Regions from separate parts of the Homo sapiens genome. Here region 2 is linked to region 1. Evidence: promoter capture Hi-C in 16 types of primary human blood cells and fetal thymus (Javierre and others, 2016). All regions are on one chromosome and are shown on one strand. Each heading gives the region's core, a stretch centred on a gene start or on the middle of the fragment in contact. The rest is flanking DNA. Distances are from core to core; before and after follow the strand shown.

Region 1 (3,582 bases), core at 260-2,759:
CACACACACGACTGGATGCGGTGGCTCACGCCTGTAATCCCAGCACTTTGGGAGGCCGAAGTGGGCGGATCACGAGGTCAGGAGATCTAGACCATCCTGGCTAACACGGTGAAACCCCGTCTCCCCTAAACAAAATACAAAAAATTAGCCGGGCATGGTGGCGGGCGCCTGTAGTCGTAGCTACTTGGGAGGCTGAGGCAGGAGAATGGCAGGAACCCAGAAGGCGGAGCTTGCAGTGAGCCGAGATCTCGCCACTACACTCCAGCCTGGGCGACAGTGTGAGACTCCGTCTCAAAAAAAAAAAAAAAAAAAAAAAAATTACAAACCACACACACCCTGGCTACTTTGGGTAAAAGAGTGCCAGAGAGGGTCAGTCACTTTCTCAAGATGGAGGAGGAAGCAGATAGAGCCTCAGACCTCCAGGACTCTATCTGAGACTTTTTTTTTTCTTTTTTCTTTTTTGAGATGGAGTCTTGCTCTGCCGCGCAGGCTAGAGTGCAATGGCGCAATCTCCACTCACTGCAACCTCCGCCTCCTGGGTTCAAGCAGTTCTTCTGCCTCAGCCTCCTGAGTAGCTGGGATTACAGACGCCAGCCACCACGCCCAGCTAATTTTCGTATTTTTAGTAGAGACAGGGTTTCACCATGTTGGCCGGGCTGGTCTCAAACTTCTGACCTCAGGTGATCGCGCGCCTCGGCCTCCCCACGTGCTGGGATTACAGGCATGAGCCACTGCGCCCAGCCCAAGACTTCTGTCATTTCCAAGATTTGTGATAAAATATATACGCTATTAGTTCAAGTCAAGAGTGTGATTATGTCTCACTGTTTGCTTGCTACAGGTCAGTATCTTAAACACTTTGGCTTTCTTCTTTGAGCAAGAGGTTCCATCCTTGGTGAATGGCTTGAAGGTGCTTGAAGGTGGCAGCTTGCTCAAGGCCCACAGTGGGGGATGCATTACATTTTCTGTGCAAATTATAGCAGGTAATTCAGTTTCACAGAGAGAAGCCAAAAATTTAGAACAACAGAAAACTTTGTCCTGTAGTATTTGAGGAAGAGGAATAAGATAAGTGTATTTTCCTTAAATCAACTCACCATCTGTAGTATGAAAGTCCATTTTAAATAGTTAATGATACTTATGTTTCAGGAAGGCACAGAGACAAGGAGAAAGTTCTCACGGCGTGTGAATGTGTGAGTAAAAGCCTCCTGTGAGAGGATGTGGCCTGGTTCACAAGAGAAATTTTCTGTGTCTCAAAGTAGAAGCCTGGAACTGTGGACTAATGAAATTATAGGCAGGGATTGCTTGGTCCAGCTCACATCATCCCAAGGCCTTTCCCCACCAATCAAGTCTGAACTAAAAGGATTTTGCTTGTATCTTAGAGTAAATCAGGAAGAGCTCAGCCAGAGACCCTGGGGTCCTTCAGTTTTGCAAGATGCAAATTGGGAGAATCCTAGAAGAGGTGTCCTTCCCTAAAGTCCTTTCCAACTGTGAGACCTGATGCCTTCACTTTGGGATTTGGGAGCTGAACCATAAGGAAGACTGAACAGGATCAGGAATAGGCAGTGGGAGCAGAGAGCACTGGGCCAGGAGTTGGAGGGCAAGGAGTAAGCATAGGCTGTTTGACTCCCTCGCTGCGTGGCCTCTGGCAAGTCACTTTGTTACAGGACTCCACCATTTACCCAAAGGTAGCCGTTGGGTCAGGGTTTCTGTACTATAGTGCCTTCTGTGTTCGCCAGAAATATGTTACAGGAAAGGGGGTCCCGATCCAGACCCCAAGAGAGGGTTCTTGGATCTCGAGCAAGGAAGAATTCAGGGTGAGTCCGCAGTGCAAAGGCAAAGCAAGTTTATTAAGGAAGTAAAGTGGTGAAAGAACATCCACTCCATAGACACAGTAGGACGTTCCCGAAAGTAAGAGGAGGAACGCATCCAACCTACGTACAATGCTTGTATATATGGGGAGATGTGCTCTGCTACAAGGTTTGTGATAAAGGATTAATTTTCTTAATTACTATATTTTGCAGGAATTGATATTATTATCTTTAAAGCAAAATTAGGAATACCTTTGTTCAGCTGGGCACAGTGGCTCACGCCTGTAATCCCAGCACTTTAGGAGGTTGAGGTGGGTGGATCATGAGGTCAGGAGTTCAATACCAGCCTGGCCAACATGGCGAAACCCTGTCTCTACTAAAAATACAAAAATTAGCCGGGTGTGGTGGTGGGCGCCTGTAATCCCAGCTACTTGGAAGGCTGGGGCAGGGAATTGCTTGAATCTGGGAGGCAGAGTTTGCAGTGAGCCGACATCGTGCCACTGCACTCCTGCCTGGTCAACAGAGTAAGACTCCGTCTCAAAAAAAAAAAAAAAAAAGGAATACCTTTGTACCAGGTTATCTGGACACTCCCAAGTCTGGGCCTGTTCAGTAAACACGATTAATTTGTTCCCTTAACTGTAAACATGCAGAGGCTAATAATGCCTAACTTTCTGAGAATGCAGCCCAGCAAGTCTCAGCCTCATTTTCCTAGTCCTCACTCAAAATGGAGTCATTCTGGTTCGAATGCCTCTGACAACTTTGCTGAGCATTCACTTCTTCATGTGCAAATTGGGAACAATACTGCCTGCTCTTGCTAACTCATGGTGGTAGCGTAAGGCTCTAATGAAGTCTGGTCTGGGAAATTGCCCTGAAAACCAAAATGCATCGCAGAAAGGAGTAACGTTTCATCTGACCCCTTCCTACCTCTCCAGCCCTGTCGTCCACCATGCTTCCCCTGATCTGTGTTGCAGCCACAGACTGTCTTTCAGTGTCTTGGTAGGTAGCCTCCTCCTGCAGCTGGGCCTTTGCACGTGCTATTCCCATGGCCTGAAGTGTGCCCACCAACCTTTGCCTGGCTTTACTCCTACTCATCCCATAGAACTCAGTTCAGTTGTACCTCTTCAGGGAGGACTTCTCTGCCCACACCCCCCGGCCCTCTCAGTTTGGGTGGGAATCTATTACTTGTATGCCTCCCTGGCACCACGTGTCTTACTCTCATCACTGTTTGTAGTTATAATTTGTTTGGATTAATGTCGGTCCTGTCAACAGATCATAAGCTCCATGAGGGCAGAGAATGGTGTGTTTTTTCACTCACCTTCATATCCCAAGAGCCTAGCCCAGATACCAAATAAATACTAGCGGTTGTAGAGTAGGTCCGGGAAATCTAGGTAGCAGGGATTCTGAATTTAGGTTTCTGGATGAGGGTGCTGGGAATGAGACACCCAGCAAGAGAAGTCTCCTCTCTGAATTAGCCTGGTGTTTGCACCTTTTTTCCCCTCCCTTTAGGCAAAGCTGTGCTACACTATGTAATGTCATGCTGGTGTCTGTCTGTCTGTATGTATTTATTTGAGAGTGAGTCTCTTTCTGTTGCCCAGGCTGGAGTGCGGTGGCGTGACCTCGCTTCACCGCAACTTCTGCCTCCCGGGTTCCAGCAATTCTCCTGCCTCAGCCTCCTGAGTAGCTGGGATTATAGGCATCTCCACCATGCCCGGCTAATTTTGTATTTTTAGTAGAGACGAGGTTTCTCCATGATGGTCAGGCTGGTCTCGAACTCCTG
Region 2 (3,699 bases), core at 602-3,101, 320 kb before region 1:
TTTCCCCCTAACTTGCCATTTTGATGTGGTTTCAGGAGGAGAATGGGATAAACACATATGATGAATGCATTATGTTTCCAAGTGCAATTGTTTCCTTAAGAAGACTTGTGACATTTGGATAGATAACTTTGGTGGACTTTTTAGAGAATAGATGTAAAGGATGGCAAGACTGGAAGCAGAATGATGTATCATTGATCTTAGGAGGCACTTGGGTTTTTTGTGTGTGCTTGTTTGTTTGTTTTTTTGCATTTCAATATCTTCTAATTGGGATGTTTCACTTTAGCTATTAGTCAGACAGCAGTCAAACTATATTTGTCATACCTGCTCATGAGCATCAAAGCTTGCCAAATGGGTGTCTGAGGCTTGGAAGAAAACTCTAGAGCCTGGAGAGGAACACTCTTAGGAAATGCTGCATCACCAAAGCCCTTATGAAATGCACAGAGGACTACATTGCGTGGAAATTAGTGGACATCCAAGACTGAGTCAAAAAAGTGAATCATTAACAATCAGTCTCTGTGAAGTTTTAGGGATAGTTACCATGTTATTGTTTTCTATTTCCCTTTTTATGCATGCACAAGAGTGAAATATAGAAATCGGTATGTATATAAACCCATATTTTCAATACATGTAAAACAAAAATGCTAAGTGGTAAGGAAAGCATTTGTCACAGATAATTTGCAACCTTTTTTCTTTTTTTTTTTGAAACAGGGTCTTGCTCTGTTGCCCAGGCTGGAGTGCAGTGGCGTGATCTCGGCTCACTGCAACCGTCGGCTCCCGGCTTCAAGCGATTCTCTTATCTCAGCCTCACGAGTAGCTGGGATTACAGGCGCCCGCCACCATGCCTGGCTGTTTTGTATTTTTAGTAGAGACAGAGGTTTCGCCATGTTGGCCAGGCTGGTCTCGAACTCCTGATCTCAGGTAATCTGCCTGACTCGGCCTCCCAAAGTGCTGGGATTACAGGTGTGAGCCACTGCGCCCGGCCTTGTAACCTTTTTTCTTAGCGGGACATAAAATAATGGTGAATTTTCCAACTGATGGAGTCCAGGAAAGGGATAATAGTGAGCAGAGGGGAGATAATCACTGGAATGCCAAGAAGGAAAAATCAACTCGATTTGGCAGATTACTGGGGGAGAGGTAAAGGTGAAGGGGAGGAAATCTAGGATGGTTTCCACGTTTCTGGTCTGGGCAACTGAGTCGATGTGGTAACCTCGACTGGAGCAGGTTTGGGAGGGAGTTCAATTTAGGAAGGCTATGTTGAAAGAAACGAATGAACGAAAGCTTCGTGCTTGCTTTGGTGGGACGGAACCCCGCATCCGGTATCTGGCACCAGGAGCTTGTGGCTGTGTCTCGAGGCTCCTGCACCCTCTCAGAGCGTTAGTTAGAGGCGGGGCGGTGGTGCGGAGCGAGGGCCAGAGCAGGGCACCAGGGCTGGGCGCGCACCAGGAAGCCGCCGCCTCCAGCTGAATGCGCGAGTCCCGGCGCGGGGTGGGGCAGGGGCGGGCACGGTCTTCAGTAACTGCCTAGCGATTGGTTGGGAGGCACCACAAATGCCTAACAAACTGCTGAAGCGCCCTCCGAAGGGACAGACCTCATCTCCACCCCGCCCCGTCCCTCCGCCAGACTGGAGCGCAAACTATGGTCGCATTGATCACTGAAGGATCCTCACAGCAACCGCTCCTTTCCGGAGTCGGATGAGAGGAGAGTTGTGACTGGCAATTGGCAGGGGCGGGGCGGGCTAGGCCTGTAGCGCTGGGCGACCGTCCTGGGCATGGATTGGGCCGCGGGGTTGTCACCGTTATCCGGGAGGCGTGGTCAGCACTAATAAAGGCGGAGGCCGGCGCGGCAGCTGCAGTAAGTTCCAGCGCAGCTAGACCGCGGGGTAGTCGGCGCGAGGCGGAGCTTGGCAGTTCCGTCCACTTCAGCCGCAGCGTCCCTCACCGGGTGTCTCGCCGCAGCCTCCGGAGAGGAACAGACCCTCACTCTCTCTGTCAGAAAAATGTGAGTTGACTCTGGTGTGGGGGCTCGGCACCTCCTTGACAACTCTCGCCCCAAGCTCCCGATTCTGCGGGACGGAAAATGGCGCAATGCAGCAGCTGCAGCAACGCGGGGAACTACCACCGCGCGCCGCTTCCGGACCGGGCCACCCCCAGGGAGGGGGGCCAGCACCCCATTCTCGCACCAGCCACAGCTAGCACCCCACGGGCGGGGCAGGGGCGCAGGGGTCCCACAATCATTGCACCCTCTCCTCTCGTCTGAGTGGCGCCTCATTCTGGTTTTGGTATAGTGGAGACTCGGAGAGGGCGGGGGCTGGGGGTGGTGGATGGAGACAACTGGGCAGGGGACTCGAAAGGTATTTCTGTCATCTGGCTAAATCACTACTCAGCGCCTCAGGAAAGACAGTCATGGGTGCAACTGCCAGTTGGTAACTTATGTTGCCCTACAATCTCTGGATTTGTTTACCCCTCACCCAAAGTGTGATGTCTAGCCCCCCTCATGGCAGTGAGCAAAGCTGCAGAAACTTATCTGCCAGTTCTCTGGCACCAGGTGAGCAGCTCAGAAAGACTCAAGGGGTAGTGGGATAGTGGCCTGTCATCCCAAGCGGCTGTTCATACCAAGGCCATTCGTATAGGAGATGTTTTTCTATCACCGAGTCTTACCAAATAGTTGGAGGAGAAATAGGGAGAGCTGAGCTTTCCCCCTTTCCTCCAACACACACAGTTTAGTCTCCAGCAGTCTTCAACATCACCCCCTTCGCATGATCTTGAGGGAAAACTACGGCTAAACAAACGAAGTACTTCTCTGTCAAGACCTCAATATGTCTAATACAGATTTTTCTTTCTGATTACTACCCTGGCCTGGTCCTAGATGTATTTATGTTGCTTCTCTAAGTGACAAAAAAGGGAAAGATTTACTTGTGTTACATAAGGGTTGTAATTATCCCTAGATATTTTACTGTTGAGTGTTTCCAACTCCCAACAAGTAGTAAGTGAAATTGGCCTTGCAAATACTTCATAGCCATTTCACTTTTTCTTTTTGATTTCTATGGTTTTAACCAGATATGAGTGTTCTATGCATTTTGGGCAAGCCGTAGAATTCCAGTTGTTTTCATTTTGGGGAGGGGGCTTCCAGATAGTATCTACGTGGGATGAACAGAAGGCAACAGAAAAATCGTGGTGGCTAGCGGGGCATCACGAGGTCTCTGACCTTAATCTTGTCATTGGTGCTACCATCCTGGACTGCTTCCAACACTGGCTGCTACCTACTCATTGAATTTTCTGCCTTAAGTCGAGAGCTAGATTGCTTAGCTAGCTCAGTGGCAGGACAAGAGTCTTGTGGCTCCCATGACTTTGTGTCTATCTTTGCTTTACCTCCTTTGCACCTTAGAGGGAAATGGAAAAGTGATTCTTCAAATGGGGAATGAGTCAGGTGTAATCTGCTACCATAGCCTCTCTGAGGAGTTATTCTCTATCTTTTTAGACTAAAAGAAATTCACTTAATCAAGGAGAATGAGCTTCTGGGTATTAGTTCTATTGTAATTAGTCAAATAATTTCCTTTTAGGTGACTTTGTGGTTTCATTTTTGTTGCATTTACTCTTGGACTGCTCCTGTGAAGTATGTTTGGTGAGATTCTGCTTCTGTTTGAGGAGTTCTTACTGTAATTTCTATTCTCCATCAAATTTGAGAGATCTCCCCCCTGCC

What was found. Contacts are between HindIII fragments. The CHiCAGO score rates a contact against its expected background, and 5 or more counts as called.
Region 2: a contact is called between the fragment with the promoter of VAMP1 here and a fragment that was not itself captured in region 1, in 1 of 17 cell types (non-activated CD4 T cells). The highest score is 5.2, in non-activated CD4 T cells.

The regions. Positions count from the first base shown.
Region 1 is chr12:6,146,006-6,149,587 of GRCh38, reverse strand. No RefSeq gene overlaps it. Among named protein-coding and RNA genes, the nearest start is that of VWF, 23 kb to the right of the region's middle. The HindIII fragment of the contact is 4,885 bases long and covers 1-3,582 here.
Region 2 is chr12:6,468,829-6,472,527 of GRCh38, reverse strand. It overlaps VAMP1 (vesicle associated membrane protein 1), which reads left to right and starts at 1,851. Exons shown (of 5, transcript NM_014231.5): 1 at 1,851-1,998. The coding sequence starts at 1,997. It also overlaps a transcript of TAPBPL not described here. RefSeq lists silencers at 1,300-1,559, 1,770-1,819, 2,320-2,369. The HindIII fragment of the contact is 5,218 bases long and covers 1,281-3,699 here.